Linked DNA regions of Homo sapiens: regions 1, 2 and 4 are each linked to region 3. Evidence: promoter capture Hi-C in 16 types of primary human blood cells and fetal thymus (Javierre and others, 2016). All regions are on one chromosome and are shown on one strand. The core of a region is centred on a gene start or on the middle of the fragment in contact, and the rest is flanking DNA. Distances in the headings are between cores, read along the strand shown. Region 1 holds the start of DMTF1 (cyclin D binding myb like transcription factor 1). Region 2 holds the start of TP53TG1 (TP53 target 1). Region 3 overlaps GTPBP10 (GTP binding protein 10). Region 4 holds the start of BET1 (Bet1 golgi vesicular membrane trafficking protein).

Region 1 (6,225 bases), core at 3,070-5,569, 3.2 Mb before region 3:
ATTTCCTGTGCCTAAAATAGTGCTCAGCCCAAAGGAGGTGCTCAGGAAGAGCTGCTGAATGAAATGACCGAGTGTATCACAAATGTGCAAACTCCTGAAAGTTATAAACATTATCGTAGTTCCTTGTTTCTTCCTGTTTCACTGCATATTCTGTGCAAAGGAATTAAATGTACAGTGAATAGAAGGGAAGGGGATTAATCCAGAAGTCTTTTAATTCTAGAGAGCTTTCTCATATTTTGATTTCAAAGCAGAATCCTTATCCCTTTAGCTTTATTACTGTTGAGGCTTGTCCTTGGTCTGCCACAGCATATCATTAGCAATGAAGGCCCCAAAATTTCTATCTACTGTTGAAGTTACTACTTGGGAAAGAAAAAACAAAAACAAAAACAAAAAAAAACTCCTGCTGAACAATAGGGACATCTGCTGGCTAAAATGACAAGCTTCTATTCTTAAAATACTGCATCTAGATGCACAAGACTTGGGCAATAAGGTTTAGAGTAACACCAAATATGTGATGTGTTAAAATAACTTCTTTCCACTTGAAAAATAGGTAACATGTGTTTGTTTTAGTCCAGAATTGTCCAAGTAGCAACACTATCTGGAAAAATACTGTGTGATCGCCAGTAGTCAGCTGTTCTTGCCAAAGAATAGAAATGGCTAGCTTCCAAGTCTTCTGGCTTAAGATAATTATCTTTAATATCAACAAACATTTAAATGTCTGCTAAGTTAAGGTATTGTGCCATATATTAGCAAATCAAAGCTCATGGCAAAGGGGTAAGATGGCCCATTTCTGCTATGTCTGGGCATGCACTGAGCTCTAGTCTCAGAGGAATAGGAATACTATTCAGTCTTAAAAAAGAAGAAAATTCTGCAATATGCAACAACATGGATGAACCTTGAGGACATTATACTAAGTGAAATAAACCAGTCACAGAAATACAAATACTACATGATTTCACTTATGTTAAGTATCTAAAATAGACGAATTTTTAGAATCAGAGTGGAATGGTGGTTTACCAGGGGCTGGGGAGAGGGGATGGGGAGTTAGTAATCAGCGGGCATAAAGTTTCAAGTAAGATGAATAAGCTCTAGAGATCTGCTGTACAACATTGTACCCATAGTCAATGATAATGTTTTATATACTTAAAATTTTATTGAGGGCAGATGTCATGTTGTGTTCTTACCACAATAAAGTTTTTTGAGAAATTCAGCTAACATTTGCAAGGGACAGCCTATCACCTGGCAGTGCTCTGCTTTCACCATTTTATAAACATTTTACAAGCCAGTTGCTTTCTGCAAATATGCTTTCATGCACTAGCTTGACAAATGCTTTCCCACCTTGCACCCCCTACTATGCTTCTTTATTCTTACCTTTCTGCTTAAGTATCTTCTCAGAAAGGCCTACTCTGAACTCTCTATGTAAAAGTTCACTTTCAGAGCACCCAAGTTGTATCTTTCTCAGAACTTACAAAACATGGCAATTATTGCTTAGTTAACTAATACATTGTCCCTCTCTCTTCCATGCTAGATTATAAAGGAACAGGTCTTTGAGTCTGGGTCTGGATATTATCCTGTTTTAGTGAAGTATCTGAACTGTTTTGTTTTGCACACCAAAATTACAAAGACAGAACAAAAATTTTTATCCTTATTGGCTAGGAGTATTGGACGCCTTAGCTCTCCATTCCCTTGATAAGGAAACACTTTTCTGGCTAATATTCTATCAATAGGTCTCAACAAAGATTTACCACAAAAGAAGAAAAAAGTGAAGTGGATATAGAGAGGTTGTCACCAGGCTGAGGTATTAAAAGGATTGCAGAGATGAGACACATAGGCAAAATGCAAGGCGGGAAAAGGATTGTAAGATGGAGTGTCATAAGGCCCAGAGGGAAGCCTACAGGAAGAATCTGAGACAGGAGACCACCTGGTAAAGCCTGGTGTGTGGGCATAACTGGGACAGTTTATTCATTCCTCCATTAGCACAGCAATCTCCATCAGCTGGAAGGCCCTACAGTGTATACCCATCAGCTATATTAACAGGACTCAGAGCCTGTGTAGAAAGAAAATTACTCAGTAATTGTAATTTTCTTTTACTTTGAACAAAAGCTTATAAACATCTTTTTTTTTTCTGAATTAGCAAAAGATGATCATGAAACAACAGAACCTGCTTCTCAGTATTTGAAATACTTTATATTAATATATCAACCTGTCATAAAAGGCAATTTCATCATCAATCACTGATGAGGTTCACAAAAGTGTTATAGACACCTGGAGTCCAACAAAGTCAATTTTAACTAGCAAATGCAGTAAATACCATAGCTAAGCTATAAATACTTTAATAATTATTGTTTAGGATAGAAATACTTCTAATGATTTTTCTACAAAACATTTAATTCCTAAATAGGTAAATCCTTGGATAATATTTAAAACCTCATCCATTCCCTAGGTACACATTGACTAAATAATGAGGTACGGATAACATAGAAGTATAACTGCAGAAAATTGCTCTAGGAATCAAGTTGTGTTATGGATAGTCTTTACATTGATTATTCAAGCTAAAGGGATAGAGACGTTATTATATTTTTTTAAATTATGCATTAAGCTAATATTAAAATACATTTGTCATCCCCAAATAAATACCAATTGACTTGGGAAAAGGTAGTTATAAAAGAAACTCAACCAGAAAGGGAGAATTTAGTTATGAGGATGCACTTGACTTTTTGCGGGGAGTTAGCAGCGTGCAGGCTGACCTAAAATTTAGCAGAGGAGAATGGATAGCCCGACTATAATTTATATATCACTATTTTGTGCCTTAGCAAAAATAATCCTATATGGTTATGTCTTATGAAAAATATGGCTCATTAGGAACCACCTTATCAATGTTAATGTCAACAATTTTGCATATGTAATTATTATTTTATTAGAACTGCTCTTTGAGTAGTTGTATTGCTTTCCTGGCTTTAAGGTTTATTAGTTACCATTTTTAATGCTTAATACACGTCAGATTCCATGCAAACTACGCTGTCTACAATATTCTGGAAGGTACATCTTATTACTCCTAAAGTAAACAAAGCTAAAAGAGGTGAAGTGCCATATCCACTACTAAGAAATGGAGCCAAGATTCACACTCAGGTCTGACTGCCTGAGTCCATACCACGATACTATTCTGCCTCATAGTTTTGCTTACATAAACATTATTATGTACTTATTAAAAAATGGAATGATACACGGCTTAACTCCAACAGAATGCAGAGTGCCACAAATTAGTAATAAAGTTATCAACACAAGAAAATGCTGCTTCTGAGATTTATTTTTGAAAATTAGTCAAACATGTCGATCCTCCAGTAAAGCAAAGCATTTGTAAACTGGTTGTAATCATTTGTTTTCGTTATGAAAGTACTGCCAAAGTGTATTTTGTGAACTGCAACCGGGTAGTTCAGAACACAGGCTTTGGAGCTGAGGCTTCAATTCTAATTCCACCGCCAACTTGGGAGCCCTTGGACACATTCCTTCACTTCTCTTTGGTTCCTGTGTAAAATGGGATTCATTTGTAATAATTGTAGCGATGCACTTAGAACTTATGAACATTAAATGAGTTTAATATACGTAAAACATTTACCTGTCACATACGCACTCAAAGAATGCTGGCTCACATTACAGAACCCAAAGGCTTATTTATCCTTTTCGTTTATAAGGGTATTAAAACGCGTTTTCTATTTAGGATGGGTTTATACGGCTGCAACCCAAGGAGCATCTGTACTTTTAAGAGGAACTGGGCACAGCAAAACAGCATCTTCCTAGTCTAACAGTGAGACTACATTCACAGAGGACACATTTCATCAAGAACGACTTAACACGCCCAGATATCTCATATTATGCCCCTGCGGTAAGGCAAATCAAGTATGAAGACACACACTCCCTGTTTTCTTCAGCACTGAGATCACTGGTTCCCTCCGTTCCACACCGCGGCTCCCTCGGCTCGGAGCCACAGGGAACTATGAAAATCGGCACGCGAGGCCTAAGTGTCCCCAGAACCAGAGGAACCACAGTTGCGTCATAGCAGAAGGACCTCTTTTACAGCATCAGCAGTGGGATAGTCAGTGCCGAGTTTTCCTGGCAGGACAGCCGACAACCACCGCCACAGACCAGTACAAACATTCCAACCCAGGACCTTTTTTCGCGCGCCGACACAGCCGGAAGTGACGCGTACAGCCAGCACGCTGGGCCGCCAGCGGGACAGACGAGCGGGAGGGGCAGCGTGCGGGGAGCTGGGGGCGGGGCGCGGCCGCAGCTCCGTTTCCGGTGGCTCGTCGCGCTCGCTCACTCCAGCTGCAGCCACTCTCGCCCGTGGCTGCTTCCTCCATCCTGGTATTTTTTGGAGCTTCCATCCTGGTTCTTCCAAAGTGCCCGGACCCAAAACAGGAAGTAAGTGCGATGGAACCTTCAGGTTCCAACCGCCGCCAGGGCCGCTCCGCCCAGTGGAGCCTGTCCGGCCCCCTTGCTGCCCGCTAGCTCCCGCCGGCTGGCGCAAGCTGTCGGCGCCGGGGCACTGCGGGCGGGGTCGGAGCCTGGCCTTCCTGACGTTGCAGCTGCCGTCCCCGCACGTTCCGGCCAGGGCCTCCCTCTTAGGGCCGGGCGGTGCCCGTGGCTCAGGCTGCAGAGTAGGGAAGCGAGCGGCTGCCGAGGCACAGCGGCGATCCGGCGGGGGCGGAAAATGGCGGCGGCTTCGGAGGAGCTAAATGGCGCCGGGACCCCTGGGGGGTGGGGTGGGCCGGGAGGTTGAGTAGAGAACTGGGCCAGAAGGAGTGGAGACAGTAAGGAAGCCCTACTTGTTTTCTCGTGGTGTTCTATTTTTAGTTTTTATTTTTGTTACGTTTTCGGTTTTGTTTTATGGTCCAGCGTAGGAGAGGTAGGCTTGGGTGGGGTCGAGAGAGTGGGGGTGGGTCTCGACCCAACTTCCCCCCCTTTGCTTTTTTGTTCTTTTCCCTCGTTTGCGCTTTAGATTCTTCTGTAATTTTGCGGGGGTTCAGCCTTGCTCGGCGATTCACGGCCCAGACATAGAGAATCGGGATAGCTGGCCGAACCGTCTCTCTCAGTCTGACTCTCTTTAAAGAAGGGATGTGGGCTGGGGCGCGGGGACAGTCCTGGTGGAGCACGGAAAATGCGGCTGTAAAGTTGTAATTACCCTATTGTGCCGAGTTCCGAGAAAGTTCTTAAAATTGTTAAGTCCACTTTGTTCTCTAAAATGTACTTCGCTTTGAGAATTTCTTCAGGGAGGTATGTAGAATGTTTTACCACAATCTCCAGAGCAGATTTGAGAGTAGAAGTGGCCAAGTGCCCTTTTGTGCAATTGAATGATAGAGCATATGTCTTTATATAAAATACTCGGTGTAGATAAGGAAAAGGATAATAGTATACAGTATGAGTCAGGACTCCTCCCTTTCTCTCATTGAATTTGTGTAGTTGCTTTTTTCGCAACTCATTCATCTTTGTGTACCTCTTTTTAATGTACATGGATTTGATTATGTGTGCCTCCTTTCTGACAGTCGAGGCTGCATGTTGGGACGTCCTACAAAATGCATATTCTGTGGAATTATTTTTTAATATGACATGTCTTAAGCTTAAAGTGACGCCATTTGGAAAATTTTAAATTATACCTGTATTTTTAATTCGTGGGAGAAAACCATTTGTAGCTTTTAAGCTCCAAATACGAAAATATTCTTCCACTATGTTGAAAGTATTGCAAAATCTGTTTTTTTCAGTTAAGGGTTTTCATGTTTTTTCATTACTTCAAATTTCTTTAAGCTGGTTTTGAAATTATATTTCAAATAGCTTTCTGAGGATTACTGTCTTTTAATAACTTGAATAATTTGCCATCACTTTAACATTTAAAGAATGACTATGGCGATACACCAAAATCTTATCTTTTTGCTCTTATGGTGTACTTAGAGACAGGATTTCATGTATTTGGTTAGGATTTAGAAATTCTGTTAAGATTTAGAGAAAAAAGGTTAAAGCTACATTCCTTAACGTTACAAAAATTGTCATGCTGAGAGAATCCAATTTGGTGTGAGAATAATTTTTTTCTTCCATACAGAAAGCACAAAAACCAGCCTGATTGTATCTGGAAAAAACCATTATGTTACAGGTGTGAAAAATACATTTCATGATTGTGGTGATTTTTATCTCATTTTAACTCTCGATACTAGGTGCTTCTGTATGCCACCA
Region 2 (7,113 bases), core at 1,385-3,884, 3.0 Mb before region 3:
TTATTTATTTCAATGGAAACAAAATGTTCCTGTAAAGATGCCTGGATTTTTGGATATAGAAAAAGTTGTGGGACTGAAAAAAATGAGTGGAACAGAGATTTGAGTATGTAGAAAATAATCTTTTTAAATATTTGAACCAAATGTTCTAAAATTAGCTTATGGTGACTGCATAACCCTGTGAATATAGTAAAACCATTGATTTGTGGACTTTAAATGGCCGAACTTTATGGTATGTAAATTATATTTCAACAAAGATGTTAACAAAATTTTTAAATGTTATATTTTGTTTAGTAAGAAGGTATTTTTTTCTGAGATGCAAAAACATCATAGTTATCTTAACTCTTCCCCTCAGATTTTGGTGGCAACTTTTCATGTACTGTAAATATCATCAAAAGCAACCCCAAATCAATGATTAGTACTAAAAAGAGACCTTTTGTATCAAACACTGTTCATCTGCTGTTGGCAGTGGAGTTCATTTTTAATGCTACATTGCCCTCTTTGCGTCCAGTGTACTTTAATTTGCTGTTGGCTGCTTCCCAAAATGACCATATTTCTACTGCCCCCCCATTAAAAAGAAGAAACATCACAAAATTATTTCTTCAACATGTTCATTTTATACATCAGAATGAAAGGAGGTTACAGGTCTCCCATAGATTAGGGCTATTTACCATATCTCCTTACTTATTAGAGTCACAAATCTTAGCAGGAAGCCAGTTATGCAGATTGAAACATGAACTTCTTAGTCTAGCATTTTAATACTTTTTAATGGTGAAATTTATCTAGACTTATCTATAAAGTCTTTTGCAATTTGTGGTATGCTGAGTAAGAACTACAGAAGAACAAAAATAAAAGATTTTTTTAATGGCAACTTAAAAAATTATCACCACTTGTACTACTTACAAATTTTCCTCCAAAAAGTTACTTTGACTCATAGTCAATTTTTAATCTTGGAACAACTTCTTGCTATCACAAATACTTCAAGTGCCTAAAACATCTTCCTTACCAGCCAATATCTCCCGCTCCACTCTAAGAAATGCAAACTCGTTCAAGTTTAACCTGAATGCAACATAATTTGGAATCTTTCATTAAAATATATATCACACATTTTGAAGCCAAACATATTTTAAAATACCTGTTTTTGGTGATTTGGGGTACATATGCTTATCAGTATAACATATTTTAAAAGATTTTTTTCTACATACTCAAATCTGTGTTCCATTCATTTTTTCACTCCCACACCTTTTTGTCTATCCGATAATTCAGGAATCTTTACAGAAACATCTTGTTTCCATTGAAATAAACAACAAGAGTAGGAAAAAGAGTGAAGCGAAATGGTTCTAAATTCTATGCACCAACAGGCATTAAACATGCATAAACTTTTAAAGAGATGCCAAGACTCACTAAAAAGGAGAAAAAAAATACAACGAAGGTTTCTGAGTAGTTTTTAGTTACTCAATTTAAAAACTTTATCTTGTAAGCAAACTTTAACATCATCCAGAGCATCGCACTTATATATGAAAGAAAAAGTTCTTTATCACACCTTCAGAAATTACAACTACAAATTCCTAATCCCTTATTTAAAATCTTTTTGGCTAGATATGTTTCAAAATTCAGAACTTTTCTTAGAATAGTACGTCTGCCATATATTATGAAACACTTCCAGCAAGCTGTACTGTAATCAAACACAATATTTCTGTAGAAAACTTATGAATATTTACACAAAGGGAACATTCAGTTACACATAGCCTCACTTCCCTTCAGGTCAAACTTTACTGCTAAAGGAGTTAGAAACGACAGACAAAGGAATGGGGCCTGTCATGACATGTTAATTTGAAATCTAAATCTTTATCTTTGATAACTAGTTCAGAGTCAGTGTAAACATTTGGTCTTTCCTTCCACAAAAAAATGAAACAGTGTATTTAAAATTAAAAATGAAACAGTATATTTTATTTCAGAAGGTAAAAGCAAAATGAATTAATCTGTGAAACTAAGTCAATCACATTATGATCTTCTAGAACTTGGGTAGCTCCACTCTGGTTAAAGATTCCATTTCTTGGCACAACAGTAAAAGACATCAGATAGGCCCGGGGGTAAGCATCCCTGGGGTATTCAAATAACTTGGGTAGCAATGAAGAGCTGCAGAAGAGCAAGGAGACCCGAGATGATGTAGTGTGCTGCGGCATACCTGAGTTGGGCAAACTCAGCCTCCGAAGATTAAAGGAAAGAGCCCAAGTAGGAATCTGTGTGATCACTGTTCTTTTGCCAAGACACGGGGTGGACAATAAGATTCCTTTACAAAGCACTGGTGTAAGTGTTCGCCTGGTGCTGCAAAAAGCGGCTCACTGGGAATGGGGAGGAGCGTGTGGTAAGCCAGACCTGCGGCGAGAAGTTGGGTGAAAATGGGTCTTAACCATCGCTTCCTGCATCTATCCCAGAGGGTTGGGTACCTTCGTGGGCGGAGCGCGGCCTGCCCAGAGTGCCTTCTAGATCCTGGGTCAGGCGCCAAGCTCCCCAGCATCATGCAGGAAGCTGCAGCCCCGCAGAGTTAGGACAGCTCATTTGGCACCCGGCGAGCCCTTCCCAGGCCCGCAGCCCAGAATAGAGCCGGGGCCCAAGACGCCCACTGGAGACAGGGTCGGGTCCCACTACCGCGCAGGCCCGGCTCGCCCCCGACGTCAGGCACGGGGCGGGACCCTTGCAGCTGTCCGTCCAGTCCCGTTCCCCGGAAAGTGAGGGGCGGGACCCTCGCGGCTTTCTATCCAATCCTGTTCCCCGGCGAATGCGGGGCGGGACCCTAGCGGCCTTCAGTCCAATTCCCGCACCTTTGAGGCCCAAGGGGGAGCGAGCCGGTGCTGCTGCAGGCTGAGGCTGCGGCAGAGGCGGCGAGGCGCGGGCGGTGAGGACGGACAGGTCCGTTGAAGCAGCATTCCCTCCCTCCCCTAATCCTTCAACTCGGGGGCGGGGGAAAGTTAAGTCGTGCAGAACCGCAAAGGTGCCTGGATTTGGTGGGGGAGTAGTGTCATCAAGCATCTCGCCTGCTGGGGTCTCAGGGGTACCCTCAAGGTTGGGCCGCGGGGCTGCTCCGTTGTAGTGCTTAGATTTCTCTCACTTGATGGCCTCTTGAGTGCAGAGTTGCTCTTGGGTTGGTGGGAAGAGCCTCCGAGCTCTCATTGCCCTCTGCTCCTGCTTCTACCCCTTGCCACTCTGCGACGAACCTGTTACCCAGCCACTGAAAACGTATCCTCTACCCTTTGAACCCGTCTAATGGAAGGTGTACTTGTCTGAAACCTACTTAATTGTATGATCATTTACTCCTGCTCTCTAGCAGGTGGACTATTTGCGTGTGTTTGCAGTGATTCACGAAAAGTTTGTCTTGGGAACTCCCAACTCCTAGTTTGTCTGCATTCCACCTTCTTTCACTAGCTTGTTCATTTCTTTTTCCCTCTTAAATATTTGTTAAGCTTGTTTCTTTCTTCCCACAGTCACCGACTTAGTCCAGTTCCCTGTGATCTCAAAACAATTGTTGCAGCAGGCTCCTGGCAGTCTCAAGCAGTTCATCTTCTTGGTGTACTGGTATGTGACAATTCCTTCACGTATTGTTCGTGGTTCTTTTCCACTTTCTGTGAATTCATATCTAATTGCCCCCAGAAAGTCAATTCTAATTAAATCTAGCATAATCATTTTCTTAGTGCTATTGGAACCATCTTATTTAACTTAATCTTTGTGGTTGAGAATTCAAGAAAACTCTTCAAGAAAGAATCCAATAATTTATATTTTTAATGTGTACCGGTTGGTGGGTTAAGCACTATAGTGGGTATGTAACTAATACTCTTGCTTCCAGTTTTCTAGAGTCTATTAAGTGGCACAGAGGTAAACAGAATAGCTTATCTTCTCTGTATGTGTGTACTAGTCTTCTATTGCTGCCTTAACCAATTACACAAATGCAACAATTAAAACAACACAAATGTATTATCTCATAGCTTCTGTAAATGTGAAGTTTGGGTGGGCTTAGCTGAGTACTTGGCTTAGAATTTCACAAAACCGAAACCAAGGTTTCTGTAGATTTGGATTCTTTTCTGGAGGCTCTAGGGGAGAATCCACCTCCAGGCTATTTCAGATTGTTGGTAGAATTCACACTGACATTTCTATATCCTTACTGTTTGTCAGCCTGAGCCTCTTTCAGTTCTTTAAGGCCATCTGCATCTTCAAAGACACCACAAATCCTTCTCAAGCATTAAAGCAGTCTTACTTGTCTGCCACTGGCCAGAGAAAGCTCTTTGCTCTTATGGACTCAAGTGATTAGATTAGTTCCAATTCGATAATATCCCTATTTTAAGGTCAGTTCTGTAGAGAATATCACAATCACAGGAGTAATGATCTCACCATATTCGCAGGTTCTGGGGATTAGCAGGGGTGGAATCTTGGGGGCCATTCATAGTAATTGTGCCTACCACAATATGGTGGTTTCAGGCAGGATTATTTTGTTTTTATAATGTGCTTTCACAGGCATTGAAAACAAATTCTGACTTTATTGAATTGTATGATTAACCACTCTAAGATAAGGAAATTCACTTAAAGTTGGTTGCCCTAGGGGCACATGGCTAGAAAGTGGCAGAGTCTGTACTTGGATCCAGATCTACATTTCCATTAGGTACAAACCCATTTTTATGGATGGTCAAAATGGTGTGCAGCCAAAGTCAATAGATAGAAAGAAGCTAAAGAACTTTGAGTTAATTATTATTTCTCATTTTCAAATTATCTCTTTATATTAGTGGTACAGGCTAAGCTCTTCTCCCTACAATAGAAAGCCCAAAATACAATGGTATGAATAAAATAGAAGTTTTTTTTTTTCCATACATCTAGAGGTAGGAGTCCAGGACTAGTAGGGAGATTCTGCAATCCTGCATATATGACTTCCATAAATGAGGCCATGGTGCTGTTTAGTTCGTCACTACCTAGCAGGTAGTAAAAAGGAGGGAAAGTGCAGGGAGAACACATGCATTCCTTTTTGGGAGCATGACCTGGAAGTGACACACACAAGGTCATCACAAAGCCACACTGAGCTCCAAGAGAGGGTAGGAAAGATAAAACTGGGGGCTGTATGCACAGCTACAACTCAGGATTCTGTTAAAGCAGAGGAAAACAGGTATTAGCTGAAAATAGTCTCTTCTGTGTCCATGTTTTTGATAGTGTTCGATTCTGTAACCTATGAGTGGAATACTTTGTTTAGCGTTGCTATCAGTTTTAAAAAATAGTTTTTGAGAGAATAGGAAGTTCAAATTCAATATTAACGTTCTTTGATTTCTCAGTTGCTATTTTAACATATAATTACATTTAATATATTACATTATTTAATATAATTAATATATGATAATTTACAAAGGCTTTGAGAAACCTCATTTTTTATTTAGCATTTGTATACCTTATTCACATTTTGAGTTAGATTTCTTTGATAGCAATTAATACACGTGTCAATATGTTCAAGATTGCTTTGGAACACTTGAGACCATTCTGTGTAGACCTCATACGACCTGTGCAATTAAAGCAGCTTGTCATATGATTTATGTATTCTATAATAATCTTTAATTCTACAGTTGGACACTTCCACACCTCTTTGTACTTTGTGCTCCAAAGTTTTCTATATCAATGCAATATCAACACATAATCCTTTTCTATACATCAAATACTATCTACCCACTAAGATTTACTGCAGGTTCCCTTACCTTCTATCATGTTGTTTTGTATAGGGGAAAGATTGTAGTCTTAACAGATCTGGGTTTGGGTCCTGTGTTTGACATTAGGTAAGTTACTAAATTTCTGAGTTTTGATATATTCATATGTAAAATTGCAAAGAATGCCACCTTTCAGAGATAACATAAAAGTTAGAGAGCTAACACATGTTTTCTGTAATGCAAACTGGAGTACCTGGCAAATGCTAGGTGTTCAATAAATGGTAACTAATTATACCAGTCCCACTGATCACTCTTTACTTCTAGCACTTTGTGTCTACACATTCTTTTTAAGTTGGTTTTCTCTATCTGACAGATTTATAAATTTCATAAAAGCTGGTACCAAGTCCTAGATATGCTGTGGTCCCTAAATACTGGTTTAGTGAATTGTGAATTGTACCTAGGATACGTAACACTATCTATGAGATTGAAGTTGTGAGGGCTCTCTCTCTTTTCTTTAGGTTTCCTATTGTGATTTTATCATGGAAAATCAATTGGCTAAATCAACTGAAGAACGAACATTTCAGTACCAGGATTCTCTTCCATCACTGCCTGTTCCTTCACTTGAAGAATCATTAAAAAAATACCTTGAATCAGGTATGTTAATAATCTTTTAGTATATATTAATATTATTAGTAACTTAGAAAACTGTGATACTGTTGCTGGAGAAGGGGTCTCGATCCAGACTCTAAGAGAGAGTTAGAGTTCTTGGATCTCTTGCAGGAAGGAATTCAAGGTGAGTTGCAGAGTGCAGTGAGAAGAGACAGTTTATTGAAAGCTTCTCCATTATAGAGTAGGACATCCTCAGAAAGCAAGCAGACTGTCTTTAAGTTTTTCTTACATAGGGGTCTTATCGATGTAAAGACTAAGCTGTGCCTATGTGAGGGTGAGCAGACAGCATGACAAAATTTATTATTCTGTTGATTTAAAGAAAACAATCCTTGACATTTTAGTGCATGAATACATCAAAGAATTATGTTAATCATCTCAAAAACATATATTGTTATGGGTATTGAGACATCTGGACTTTCTACTGTTGTAGGAGTGTGTCATTGTAAGTATCTTTAGGTTGTTTCCTCAACTGTAAATATCTTATGACTGGGTCATGACTGGCAAGGAACGTGCCTTGCTAGTCTCAAGATGGAGCTGAATTTAAAATGGTGTTACTCTGGCTCTCCTGAGCTCCTGCTTCCCCAACATTTCCCCCTCTACTTATGAGAGAACCCTTAACCTTAAGGGGAGATAAAGGGTGAAGGTTGTTCTTTTGTAACTCCTTCCTGGAGGCAGTAGATGTTGATGGTTGGGACAGGGTCTTCTCATAATAGTGTGCAGTGAGCCTCTTCAGGGAGTAAGGGAGCTCCTTGCTTGCATGATATCCCAATTG
Region 3 (6,767 bases), core at 377-2,876:
ATAATCAAATTGCTGGGAGAGCCAGCAAAGTCAGAGAATTGATTAGAGGAATTTGGAAAGACGTTAGAAAATATGACGTTTAGGTGGATTTATGATAGGAAAAACAAATGACATTCTAAGTAGAGGAAAAGCATGAGCAGAATGGCATGTAGAAATGGCGGTATTTCATGTAGTACAGAGCAAAGAGGAAGAGAGGAAGGGTTGAGCAAGTGAAAAGGATACAGGAAGGAACTAGGCATGGTAGGTGAGCCTATTGTTCTTGCTACTTGGGAGGCTGAGGTGGGAGGATCCCTTAAGGCCAGGAGTTCAAGACCAGTCTGGGCAACATAGCAAGACCCCATCTTTAAAACAGTCGGGGTGGTGTGGTGCCTGTAGTCCCAGCCATTTGGGAGGCTGAAGTGGGAGAATTGCTTGAGCCCAGGAGTTTGAGGCTGCAGCAATGATAGTGCTATGATAGTGCCACGGCACTCGAGCCCAGGCACCAGAACCAGACCCTGTTTCAAAAAAAAGAAAATAAAAGATACCAGAAGGGTATTTTAGTAGCTTTGGATATACAGTTGACCCTTCAAGAACATGGGGGTTAGAGATGCCCCCGCCACAGCTGAAAATCTTCATGTAACTTTCAACTCCCCCCACAAAACAACTACTAATAATCTGTTGGCTGGAAGCCTCACTGATAACATAAGCCGTCAGTTGACACATATAAAATATATATATAGTATATACTGTATTCTTAAATTAAGCTAGAGAAAAGAAACAGTTACTAAGAAAGTCAGAAAGAAGGGAAAATATATTTACTGTTCATTAAATGGAAGTGAATTGTAAAGGTCTTCATCCTTATAGTCTTCATGTTGAATAGACTGAGGAGGAAGAGGAGGAGTTGGTCTTGCTCTCTTGGGTGGCAGAGGCAGAAGGGGTGGGGGTGGAGGAGGTGGAAGGGGAGGCAAGAGAGGCAGACACACTATGTGTAACTTTATGGAAGTACATCATAATTTCTGTCATGCTTTTGCTTTTCTCTTTCCCCCAAAAAAATGTTTCTATAGGGTACCAATACCTCTTCCACCATTTGCTTTGGTTTCAGTGCCTCTTCACAGAAGGGTCCATGTCATAAAAGAAGTCAAAAGCAGTCCTGAACAATAGGAGCTCTTCTGCCAGATTATCTAATGTTCGTTTTTCTGGTAGTTTATTCTGTGTTTTCTTCCTTGTTATCTGGCACTGGATCTGAAGCACTCATCAAGCTGTCTTCTGTTAATTCCTCTGGTTTGGTGGCTGTTAGCTCTTGAGTTTCTTCAAGATCCATATCTTGAAGTCCTTTACCCACTTTCCCGCCGTTTTTGGCATATTCACAGCCTCTTTCATGATTTCCTTGATTGGCTCTTTTGTAAATCCTGTGAAATTATAACACAACACAACACCTGGACAAAGTTTTCTCCAGCACGAACTTACTGTTTGGGGCTTATGGCTTTCATGGCTTTTTCAATAATAATGGCATCTTCAATTATGTAAACTTCAGATTTTCCTGAAGTTTTCTCTATTAGTGTTCTTTTCCATGGTTGACAATCCTTTTCGTAGAAAATCATGTTTAATGAGCCTTAAAGGTCCTTGCGACCCCGTGATCTAGAGGCTGATTTACAGACATTGTGTTTGGGGGCAAGGACACCACTTCAGTGCCTTTGATGTTGAACTCATGGGGTTCTGGGTAGCGGGGAGGTGGGGCACTGTCCATTAGCAGAGGAACTTTACAAGTCAGTCTCGTATTGGGAAGGTACTTCCTGACTTCAGGGAGAAAGCATCCATGGAACCAATCCAGAGAAAAGGTTTTTGTTCTCTAGGCCTTCTTATCCAACAAAGACTGGCAGCTGATGTTTATCTTTCCCTTTCAAGATTGAGGGGTTAGCAGCTTTATAGATAAGGACAGTCCTGATTACAAACACAACTGCATTTGCACAATACAGTAGGGTTAGCCTATCCCTTCCTGGCTTAAATCCTGGTGCTCCCTTCTCTTCCTTACTAATGTCTTTTGTAGCATGTTTTCCAGAATAGGGTACTTTCATCAGCATTAACAACCTGATTTGGGAGATATTCTTTCGTCTCAGTGATTTTCTTAATGGCATCTGGGAACTCATCTGCTGCCTCTTAGTTGGCAGAACCTGCTTCACCTGTTATCTTGATATTTCTAAAGCCAAAGCCAAACCTATTTCTTCTTTTTTTTTTTTAAATTATACTTTAAGTTCTAGGGTACATGTACACAGCGTGCAGGTTTGTTACATAGGTATACATGTGCCATGTTGGTTTGCTGCACCCATTAACTTGTCATTTACATTGGGTATTTCTCCTAATGTTATCTCTCACCCAGCCCCCAACCCCATGACAGGTCCCAGTGTGTGATGTTCCCCCCGTGTCCCAAGTGTTCTCATTGTTCAGTTCCCACCTATGAGTGAGAACATGTGGTGTTTGGTTTTCTGTCCTTGTGATAGTTTGGTCAGAATGATGGTTTCCAGCTGCATCCATGTCACTCATCCTTTTTATGGCTGCATAGTATTCCATCGTGTATATGTGCCACATTTTCTTAATCCAGTCTATCATTGATGGACATTTGGGTTGGTTCCAAGTCTTTGCTGTTGTGAATAGTGCCACAATAAACATACGTGTGCATGTGTCTTTATAGTGGCATGATTTTTAATCCTTTGGGTATATATCCAGTAATGGGATGGCTGGGTCAAATGGTATTTCTAGTTCTAGATTCTTGAGGAATCTAGAACTGTCTTCCACAGTCAAACCTCCTTCTAAAATTATCAAATCATCCTTTGCTGGCAATTAATTCTTTAGCTTTAGATCCTTCACATTCCTTTTGCTTTTAAGTTGTCATATGGTAACCTTACTTTTTCTTTTATTGTATTAGTCTATGTTTTTAAAATAGGAATCCTGCATCTACATAAAAGTTGCCTTTTTAATACAAGATAAAAAGTTAATTCACAAAAAGTGCAAGGTTTTCACACCTTTTGGCATAGCTGCTGCAGTGGCTTCATGAATTTTTGTCTTTTTTTACACTGATTCTTATTCTGGATTCATTTATCTTGAGATAGCAGGCCATCGCAGCTACAGATTTTAATCTGTGGTAGATATCAAGCAATTCATCTTTTTATCGTAGTGTCATGACTTTACTTCTTGGGAGCACTGCCAGCATCACTAGTGGCACTTTGTATGGGTTCCATGGTGGTGTTCAAGGTTTACAGTGTAGCGCTGAACATGATGAAAAATGCAAGAGAACTGTGAGAGATTACTTTTTACTGACTTATAAAATGTACTGGCAAGATGAACTGCTCATGGGGAGACGATTAGCATCACATGGCCTTTTAAGTGGCAACTTGGGACACTTGAGATCCCGGGATAGTTACAGGAGGTAACTACGAAATTATTACAGTATTCCACGATGTACTACAGTTAATTTTATGCAGTTATGATTTAATACTGCATTTTTACATTTGCTTACATTTCTCTTGACTGCAAATGCTGCCATGTAAGATCTGTAAGTGTGTGTGTAAGTTTTGATAAATTTTAAGTTTTTATAATAGATGTGTGGCCAGGTGCAGTAGCTCATGCCTGTAATTCCAGCACTTTGGGAGGCCAAGGCAAGAGGATTGTTTGTGGCCAGGAGTTTGAGACCAGCCTGGGCAACATAGCAAAACCCCATCTCTAGTTTTTAAAAATTAAGATAGATATGTGTATATTTTATGGAAGTAAATGACAAAATAGATTAGCATCTATATATTTTTTGCACTCATAACACACAGCTTTTCTTAATTTTTTCAATATTTCCAATCTATTTGCTTTGTAAGTTTTTTCAAATTGTTGCAAAGCTCAAAAAATTTTTCTAATATATTTATTGAAAAATATCTGTATATAAGTGGACACACGCAGCTCAAACCAGTGTTGTTCAAGGGTCAACTGTAGTACTAAGAATTTTTTACTTTATTTCATAAGCATTTTTTTTTTTGAGACGGAGTCTCGCTCTGTCGCCCAGGCTAGAGTGCAGTGGCTTGATCTCGGCCCACTGCAAGCTCTGCCTCCCAGGTTCATGCCATTCTCCTGCCTCAGCCTGCAGAGTAGCTGGGACTACAGGCGCCCGCCACCACGCCTGGCTAGTTTTTTTGTATTTTTAGTAGAGACAGGGTTTCTCCATGTTAGCCAGGATGGTCTCGATCTCCTGAACTCGTGATCCGCCCACCTTGGCCTCCCAGAGTGCTGGGATTACAGGCATGAGCCACTGCACTTGGCTCATAAGCATTTTTTTAATGCATGGTTTTTGAGTAAAGGAGAAACATGATTAGAGATCAGATCAATTTCAGAAAAATAGTTCAGGCAACAAGTTGGAGAATGCAATAAGGAAAAAATGCCTAAACACTGAAAGGAGCTCATGTGGTGCAGGTACTAGGGCAGTGGTACTGGAGAGAAGAGAGTAGGGCTTTGGGAAAAGAAGCAGGTGTAGTCTGAAAGACTTCCATTTGTGTAGTCTCAATGAATATGTAAACCATGGTTCTGTTACTTTAGAGAACATTGGAGGAACAGATTTTACCTGGGGAAGAGTTTGGTTTTGTTATGTTAACATTTATTTTTGAGGTGGCTATTATTCAACTGATATGTAAGAACAAGTTTCATATTGGGGAATTTCAAATATAAGTTAAATACACATTCTGCTCACATTTGCTTTATACTATTAAAAGCTTTCATCCTGGTGGAAATGTCTGACAGATTGGACATAGAAAATATCTCACCTAGGTGATGGTTATTGGTACAAGCAGAAATTACCCAGGGGAGAAAGTCTAGAATGAAAACAGGGCCAAGTCAGAAACCCTCAGGATAGGTGGGACAATAATTGATAACTGAAAAAACTAAAAGGGACTTAAGAGAGATAATCAAATGGGAAAGGGGGTCAGATCGGAGATGTGGAGGTGAGCTAAGAAAATGTTATAGAATTGGCATGTGAAAAGCTATTAACGACTTTTTTAGAAGAAGTTTTAGTGGAAGAAAGAACTAGAAAAAGGTTCTAAGGTGATACACTTTTGGTATACAAATATTCTTTCTCTTTTTTTTTTAAGTATGGAAATTTCATCGATAAGCTAAGACTCTTCACCAGGGGAGGATCCGGTGGAATGGGTTATCCTCGTTTAGGTGGAGAAGGTGGAAAAGGTGGTGATGTCTGGGTTGTAGCCCAGAACAGAATGACTTTAAAACAACTTAAAGACAGGTATCCTCGGAAACGGTTTGTGGCTGGAGTAGGAGCAAACAGCAAGTAAGTAATTACTGAATGACTTAAATTTTAGAAAATCAAACCCTTCTGGAAATTTTTTTTTTAGTTACAAAATAAAAACTTAATTGTTAATTTGAAGTAAATTATTTCCTGTATTTATAACCAAGCAAAAGCCTAAAATGTCTCAACTCATAAAAGACTGATACTAAAGAATATTTCAGAGTTTTAAAACTTTCTGTCCGTTTCTTTTCCCAATGTCTATCTGTATTCTTTTTGCACTTCCCCTGTAGAAACCGATAATTATCTGAATTCCCACTGTTTTCTTCTAAAATTATCTTTGACAACCTTTTAGAAAACTTTCAGTCTTAACCATGCTACTCTACCCCACCACCATTAGAAGGCAAGATAACCACTATTAACCTTTTCTTGACTTTTCTAAGACTTTTCTGTGTGTTTACACAAATGCAATTATGTGCCTAAAAGTTTAGAATACAAAAATGAGAGTACAGTATTTTACAATCTGCTATTTTTACTTTTTTTCACATGTCAAAATTATTCAGAATACCTGCATAATAAATAACTATTTTGTCATTTGTCTATTTAGGTTATTGTTGATTTTTTTTTCCGATTATAACCACAGTGCAGCATTCTGTGTAGATACTATTTTACATGTTTGTTCAATTATTATTTTGATAAATTCCCAGAAGTAGAATTACTAAAACATTTGTACTAATTTTTTCTTTTATGAGCAGTTTAAGAGTAGCCAGATTTGCCTTCTATAATGTAAGTACTCTCATTTGAGGTTAGTTTTTTAAAAGCTTTGCTATTTGGTGGATTTTCTTTTTTTTTTTATAGATTCATTTTTTCTTTTTTTTTTGAGACAGAGTCTCATTCTGTTGCCTAGGTTGAGTGTAGTGGGCACTATCATAGCTCACTGCAGCCTCTACCTTTCAGGCTGAAGTGATCCTCCCACCTCTGCCTCCCAAGTAGCTGAGACTACGGGTATGTGCCACCATGCCCAGCTAATTTTTAAATTTTTCTTTTTTTGTAGAAATGGGGTCGTGCTATGGTGTTCAGGCTTGTCTTGAACTCCTGGACTCAAGAGATCCTCCTGCCTCCGCCTCCCAAAGTGCTGAGATTACAGGCGTGAGCCACCACGCCTGGCTTTTTCTACCCTATTTGTATTGTAGCAATAATCTCTTCATTTCATGGTTGCAATATTTTAGTTTCGGGTTAAAATGACCTTTGGTGGTTAGCTTAGTAACTTAAATCATTACTTAATGCCATTTTAGTGGGATATAATAGTCTAAAATGCAAAGAAATAATTAGGGATAATTTTAGTTTTTTTAAACCCCGTGTTTGACCATTTAACATCTGCGTTAACCAGAGAATTGATTGCTACTCTTCTTTGTAAACCATTTTGTGTGTATGTGTGTGTGTGTATATATACACACACACATACATACATATATATACTTTTTTTTTGGTAGAATTAGTGCACTGAAAGGCTCCAAAG
Region 4 (6,663 bases), core at 3,469-5,968, 3.7 Mb after region 3:
AAAAGCAGTAACATCATCTACCCATTGAAAAAGCGTGGCTGTGAAGAGGAAGGGAAAAGTGGTTAATACAGAAGGACGGGAGCTCATAGCGGCGAGGGTTCTTTACTGGCATCTCTTTCTCTTAAATAGACAGTTGGACAGGAAAGAGCCAAAGCAGGGAGGGGGCAAACTGAAGCTCTAGGAAAGAGACACAATAACTTATGCAGAATGCTAGCTGAGAGTCAAGAGGGAGATTCATTTATTCTTCAACATATATTTGAAGAATTACCATGTATCAGATCCACTGTTCTTTCTAGGTGCTACTTTTATGGAACTCTAAGGGATAAGAATGTACACCTCCCTGCCTAATATAGTACTTCATAGTCATCAGGCTATCAAACAACAGATGGAGTGGGCCTTAGTGAATACATATATAAATATGTTGGGCGATTAACAGGAAACGGCATAGTTCAGGGTGTTAGTTAACTATACTTTTTTTTTTTTTTTGAGGTGGAGTCTCGCTCTGTCGCCCAAGCTGGAGTGCAGTGGCGCGATCTCGGCTCACTGCAAGCTCCGCCTCCCAGGTTCAGGCCATTCTCCTGCCTCAGCCTCCCGAGCAGCTGGGACTACAGGTGCCCGCCATCACACCTGGCTAATTTTTTTTTTTTTTGTATTTTTTAGCAGAGACAGGGTTTCACCCTGTTAGCCAGGATGGTCTCGATCTCCTGACCTCATGATCCATCCGCCTCGGCCCCCCAAAGTGCTGGGATTACAGGCGTGAACTTTTTTTTAACATAATTGTTGCCATCAATTTTCTCAGTAAAGGGAGAAAACGGGCTATCTGCTGAAGAATGGGTGATCATTCAGAATATACAGTAAGGAGAATGATGGAGGAAAGGGACCGGGACTGCACAGGATTACTAAAGATAAAACAAACTTGTTTGAGGCAATATACTACGGTGGCTTCAATCGTCCCAGGTGTGTGGTTTTTTTCTGCAGAAGAGTTCATCGGCCTGAGTTAGTCCAGGAGAAGGTGGATGGTTGGACTAATCTATAGTTGGAAGCTTATAATATTGAGGTTGCAGAAAAACGGAGCCCCAAGAGGTTGAGACTGCTTGCCAAAAGAGCGGTTGAAGATCTGGATTATGGGGATTAGATTGGACAGATATTAAAGCAGATTCAACAGTGACTTGAGAATGTGGGGAAAGGAATGATATCAAAACTAGAAGTCTCAGAGCCTGCTGCACACAGTTGCTTGCACCTATAATCCCAGCTACTTGGGAAGCTGAGGGAGGCAGGATCACTTGAGGCCAGGAATTTGAGACCAGCCTGGGCAACACAGCAAGACCTCATCTATTAAAAACAAACAAAACTAGAAGTCTCCATATGCTCAATGAGCAGATGCAGCAGCAGTGACAGGAGGTAACAGCACTGATCACTGAAGGACAGTCAAGGTGTGAATAGGAACTTCTTTCAAGGCACAATAGAAATTTCATTTTCCCTATGAAGCAAAACTCTCACTGATTTCTTACAGCTCTGATTGTATGTAACACTAATATTGCACTCTGTACAGTACTATAAGGGAAGAGAATAAGTTTGTTTGACTCAACACTGTATGTCCCCCCATAAACCTACAAACACATACACACTGTAAGGCACACTCAATGAATACATGATGTGAACTAATTAATGAAAAGAATCTGAGTTCACTGTTATTGAACTTTGAATGTGCATACCTTTGTCCAGAATGGAATCATATGCTTCTCTGAAGGCAAAGACAGTATCTCATGCTTCCATATCCTCCCTGTACCTAATGAGTACTTTATATGCAGCAGATACCTATGCAATCTCCACCACCACAAAAACCACAACAAAATATTGAAGAAGTATTTTCCAAACAGAAGAGAGTTGTACTATCTGAATTTTGCTGCTGACACACTATCCATGACACACTATCCATGAAGCTCTCCACATGTTTTATTATAAAAGAACTCAAGGAGTGGGCATATTTTTCCGCTCAGTCAAATATTAAAATCACCATTTAAAAATGCATTCTTACTCTGTTAACCAATGATACTCTGTGCAAACTGTAGTTTAATAAGGGCCAAGATACTTAAAGAAAGAATGTCTTCTTATTTTGTGTGGCTGAGGTTCTGAGTATATAACATTTACCCAATAAGTAATTACTGACTGGTTGAATTCAAACATTTGACAACTTCACCAAGGAATTCATTATAAATTAACTGCTATTTTTTCTTTCCTTTGTTTAGTTGCTTTTGCCTATCTTAATTTTAATTTTAGAGTTCTTCCATGCTGTTCCATTTATTCAAAGTGAAATTCTTGTTGTATTTATCGTCCAGAAATATATCAATGCACATTCCTATTAAAGAGTTGATCTTCCCTCAAACTATGACCCATCCCAAATACAATGACAAAAGTAAAAACCAAATAAAATGCTAGAATTGCTATTCCAAACAAAGCCACTTCTCTTCTGGTGGTGTACTGCTATGAAAAGTTGTAAAAAAGCTAGTGAGTACTGAAGATCATCCTCAGCCTTTGTTTATTTAGATAAACGCTACTTTTTTGGATAGGTTCTATCAGTAAGCTAACAAAACCATTTAGAGATTCATGTGAAGTGTGGCAGCTTCTGCCTATGGATATGTATCAGATTCACTATGATCCCAAATTTAAAATTTCAGGTCAATATGCATTCATACTTTAAAAAAAAAGAAAAGAAAAAATGTGTAACAAAAGCCTTTGTCACTTCACACCAATGTAAATTATAGCAATAGTAGTTACCTAGGTAATTACTTCTCCTCTCAATCACAGAAGAGCTTTTTTTTAAAAAAAAAAAAAAAAGAAAGAAAAAAAAAGGAAAAAAGGAGAAGGTAGTGGGCTCTAAATTGGAGAAATTCTAATTTTACTGGCTGAGCTGAGGTCCAGGTAACAATACTTTAAAAACTTCCCAAGGGATTCTAATGTACAGTCAGGGCTGAGAACCATTACTCAAGTCACTTTCCTGCAATTTAACATGGCACACTGCAGCAGGAAAATACTCAAAAGGGCCTAGGGGCCTACTGATGAAATCCAAACTCTTTGGCCTCGCATGCAAAGATCTCCACAGTGTGATCCCGAATCCCCTACTTCACCCAAACTGGCTTAATCATAATCCCTTACTTCTTTTGAGTTCCTCCTATCTGGAACTCACTTCCCCCACTCTCCATTATTCAAGGTCTACTTCAAATTCCTATGTCTCCACCAAATACACAAAGATCTTCCCCACAAAGTACACAGTGATCTATCTCTGAAATCTCTGAGACCATCCCTTATATGTAGAACTTATCTGGTATTTGGATGTATAGCGACACTTTGTACTACAATTTATCTTTGCACATATTCCTACTCCCCACCTAGACTGGAAGCTTTGGGGATCACAAACAGGGCAACAAACAACTGTATACCTAGAGCTTACTCAAGCACACAATAAATCTTTTTTGGTATTAAGGATGATGAACAAGAAAAACATTTAGACATATAAAGCTAAACTTGCTCAAAATTATTTCTTTTTTTTTTCTCTTCAATTTACCTGGCCCCATTTTCTATGATCTAAGTATTCATAAAAACTTCATTAAAAAAACAAAAAACTTTCTCATACTACAATTTATTGATCAATAAACAAGTCTACGGTTATTGGCAACTTTCACTGACTTTAAATATCTGACACTTTGGGGATTTTTTTTTTCTTTTTTCAATCTTATAATGACTGAGAAAGGTAATATCTTTTTTCAAATGTTTCATTTATTTTCTGAAGTATACTGCACTCTAATTTAGCGGGGTCTTCTTTAAAAAAAAAATCGTGTCCTAAGAGAAAGCTTCAGAACCAGAAAATGCCGTTCTAGTAGCTGTGCGTTACTATAAGGGTCCATTAAAATTCCTTGTGTCTAACTTATTCTTGCTGATGAGCCAGTTTCCTAACCCCAAAGGTAAAGATCAAATGTTAAGTCGCCAAACCTTAACCACGTTCTACTGCCTTAACCGTGGCACAAGGTTCAGATTAAGAAATCGCCTTTGACCCAGAAGTTCCAGTTCCAGGACCTTTAACAATAATGACACATACATTTACCTTTGTAACTCACTGTTACCAGATTAACGACCATTACTAGCGTGCTTTGGGTGCAACCACCCACTCTTCAAATTCCGCTTCTGAAGAAACTAAGATCCAGGGCCAGTAGGGAAACAGAAACCGGAGTCGGGCTTTGGAAAACATAGCAGCGTCCATAACCACGCTCAGTCAATAACACTAAAACACTCGACCACTGAGATGCCACCTGTACACACCCACCCCTAGTCCACTACTTTCTCTAGCCTACCATCCAAACTTGAATCTGACTCAAACTTAAGGAAATTCCAAAGATCTGGGACAAATGGTGTGTTTCCACTCGACATGGACCCCAAAGATCCCCTCTAGACATCCTGTTTTTTGGACCAAATGCCAGGAACATAAGACAGGTTCGATTTCCTCCCGCGCCCCAGCGCTCCCGGTTCTAGGGCCCCGAACTTCGAACCTCAGCCCTCTTCTTACCCAGGCCTGCACGCCTCATCCTGCCAGAGGAGAGAGAGAAAAGGCGGGTGCGGGGCTTTGGGTGAGTAGGAAACAGCTAGGGGCGACCCGGACCGCGTCTTCAGTACCAGGGCCCAGCGAAACACCAACTTCTTCCCCTAAAGCGCCACGACATCAGTGGAGTCTAAACACCGCGCCGGATGATGGCGTCACCACGGCGCTCATTGGAGCCCTGGGAAGAAGGTTGAAAGGCATTCTGGGAAATGTAGTTCACCAACGCATAACGTGTTGCTGAGGGCGTGATGTGAACCCGGTTCCAGGAGCGGACGGGGCGTCCGGAAAAGGGGGCGGCTTCGACTGCGGCTCTGATTCTGGGTCTCTGATCCAACGTTCCCGCTGTTCCGCTCGCAGCCCGCGGGTCGCTGCTTTCAGTTTGTTGACCACCAAGTTTAACCCAGCAGATCTGCTCCTCCCCACCCACAAGAGGATGGTTGGGGTATCTTTCCTGATTTAGCCTCGAACTCCCTCTCACCTCCAGAGACGATTCAGGGAAAGTTAGAGAAAACTTTGTCCAGGTTTCTCAGTTTACAAACAAGTAATCCGACACCCACAGAAGTAACCGATTTGTGCCTTGTAGTATCCAGTAAAGGAAAGAAAACCAGGTTCCTTTGAGTAGGACTCCTGCTCAGATGAGAGCAGACTAGGAAAGGCTGCGGGATCTGGTCAGAGGCACTGAATAGTTAGTTCCCTGTTACTGCATCTGTTGTACTTCTAGAAAGAACCAAGACTTTTAGTTGTTATGGGGACCAAAGGACCCCTAAACGCTCTCCCACTTTTTTTTTTTTAACTTACACAAAGCTTATTGAAATACTGCTTACACAAGGCAGTGTGCCAATTAGGGGTTTAAAACTTGTTGGCGAGTTGGAGGTGTTACTGGTATCGAGGTTAATCCTAGAATTTCATTTTATCTCAGAGGATTTATCGTGAGAATACGATGAAATCGTGGTTTTTGAAGGGAAAACAAAAAAACCTGATACACAGTAGGTGATCAAAATTCACTGGGTGTCTGCGGTTTTGTTGTTGCTGCTGTATATATGGCAGTGGAATCGTCTCCACACTAGAGATTTCCGAATATGTGATCTTTGATCATTTAGCGTTTCCTCATAGTTTCCCAGGACATTATTAACATTGACTATAATACTGGCATAAGTCTCTGCGTTAAGTTGCTTTTGTAAAAAACACATGAAAACAATTTTTAATAAGAGTTATTAACCTGGGAAGGAGGCTTTATCCAATAGTGTTTTGATAGAAAAAAATCATTAAAATAAAACCGCCATTTTCTAAAAGCAATGAAATTAAATAAGCATAATATCAGGGACAATTATTACAAATAAAAGATGGAGATTCAATAAAAGAAATGATAGCTAGGTATCCCTTTATAACTTAAAATCTGTGACAGTCCTTTGGTTAAAAAAATGCATGTTCTATAATTAAAACGTTTAAAAATTGCCTTACAGAAGGCTTGCTGATGGAAATGTAGAAATCGTTATTTTTGAAAATATGGTAATATTTACTAGAACTAATCATTTAGATTACATAAAATATACTGCTTCCTTTACATGGTAGGAAGACATAAGAATGAAATGTAGTTAAAAGGAAAACATATATAATGTACTAAGAATATAACTGAAGTAAGGCAAAGCTAGTTCATATTGAAGTTGTTACCTAAAAAATCCAATTATTGTTTTTAGCTAACGTTGCTAGTATCAAATTAGGATAATGTCATCTGAAAAAAATTTGCACTCAAAGGAAGAGGCAGGAAAAATGAACTCAATGTGCAGAAAAAGAATTATTAAATGTGACCATAGTTGACATTAGCGATCAGAGGGAATCATTTTCACTTTTCTCGTTGTGCTTTTTCCTTTTTAAATTAAAATCCTTAACTTTTCTTACTGATTGAAAGCAAATAAATTTCACAGAGATGAATAGCATTTAGAACCTCTTCTCTATTCTCACAGGATAGTCTCACAGAAAACATCTAATGTTTGTAGGTCTCTAGGAGATAAAGGACTAAAAATTACTTAAAATAATATTAAGTATTCCTTCTAGTAATTACAAAAGCA

What was found. Contacts are between HindIII fragments. The CHiCAGO score rates a contact against its expected background, and 5 or more counts as called.
Region 1: the fragment with the promoter of DMTF1 here is called in contact with a fragment that was not itself captured in region 3 in 1 of 17 cell types (fetal thymus); the score reaches 8.9 in fetal thymus.
Region 2: the fragment with the promoter of TP53TG1 here is called in contact with a fragment that was not itself captured in region 3 in 3 of 17 cell types (non-activated CD4 T cells, total CD4 T cells and activated CD4 T cells); the score reaches 7.1 in non-activated CD4 T cells.
Region 4: the fragment with the promoter of BET1 here is called in contact with a fragment that was not itself captured in region 3 in 4 of 17 cell types (non-activated CD4 T cells, total CD8 T cells, activated CD4 T cells and 1 more); the score reaches 7.6 in non-activated CD4 T cells.

What each region holds. Positions count from the first base shown.
Region 1 is chr7:87,148,134-87,154,358 of GRCh38, forward strand. It overlaps DMTF1 (cyclin D binding myb like transcription factor 1), which reads left to right and starts at 4,320. Exons shown (of 18, transcript NM_001142327.2): 1 at 4,320-4,422. It overlaps DMTF1-AS1 (DMTF1 antisense RNA 1), which reads right to left and starts at 4,360. Exons shown (of 2, transcript NR_136253.1): 1 at 4,169-4,360; 2 at 3,290-3,525. RefSeq lists enhancers at 3,390-3,953, 3,869-4,108, 3,954-4,515. The HindIII fragment of the contact is 3,514 bases long and covers 2,102-5,615 here.
Region 2 is chr7:87,342,858-87,349,970 of GRCh38, forward strand. It overlaps TP53TG1 (TP53 target 1), which reads right to left and starts at 2,635. Exons shown (of 3, transcript NR_015381.1): 1 at 2,186-2,635. CROT (carnitine O-octanoyltransferase) reads left to right here and starts at 2,807. Exons shown (of 18, transcript NM_021151.4): 1 at 2,807-2,910; 2 at 3,483-3,573; 3 at 6,191-6,326. The coding sequence starts at 6,212. RefSeq lists a silencer at 2,623-2,832. The HindIII fragment of the contact is 3,653 bases long and covers 1-3,459 here.
Region 3 is chr7:90,347,717-90,354,483 of GRCh38, forward strand. It overlaps GTPBP10 (GTP binding protein 10), which reads left to right. Exons shown (of 10, transcript NM_033107.4): 2 at 5,100-5,293; 3 at 6,742-6,767. The region is part of intron 1 of LOC107986715 (a long non-coding RNA gene); the gene reads right to left. Among named protein-coding and RNA genes, the nearest start is that of GTPBP10, 4.4 kb to the left of the region's middle. The HindIII fragment of the contact is 6,192 bases long and covers 1-4,722 here.
Region 4 is chr7:93,999,637-94,006,299 of GRCh38, forward strand. It overlaps BET1 (Bet1 golgi vesicular membrane trafficking protein), which reads right to left and starts at 4,719. Exons shown (of 4, transcript NM_005868.6): 1 at 4,562-4,719. The coding sequence starts at 4,580. RefSeq lists enhancers at 3,929-4,535, 4,536-5,141, 4,596-4,645, 4,656-5,285. The HindIII fragment of the contact is 1,547 bases long and covers 3,850-5,396 here.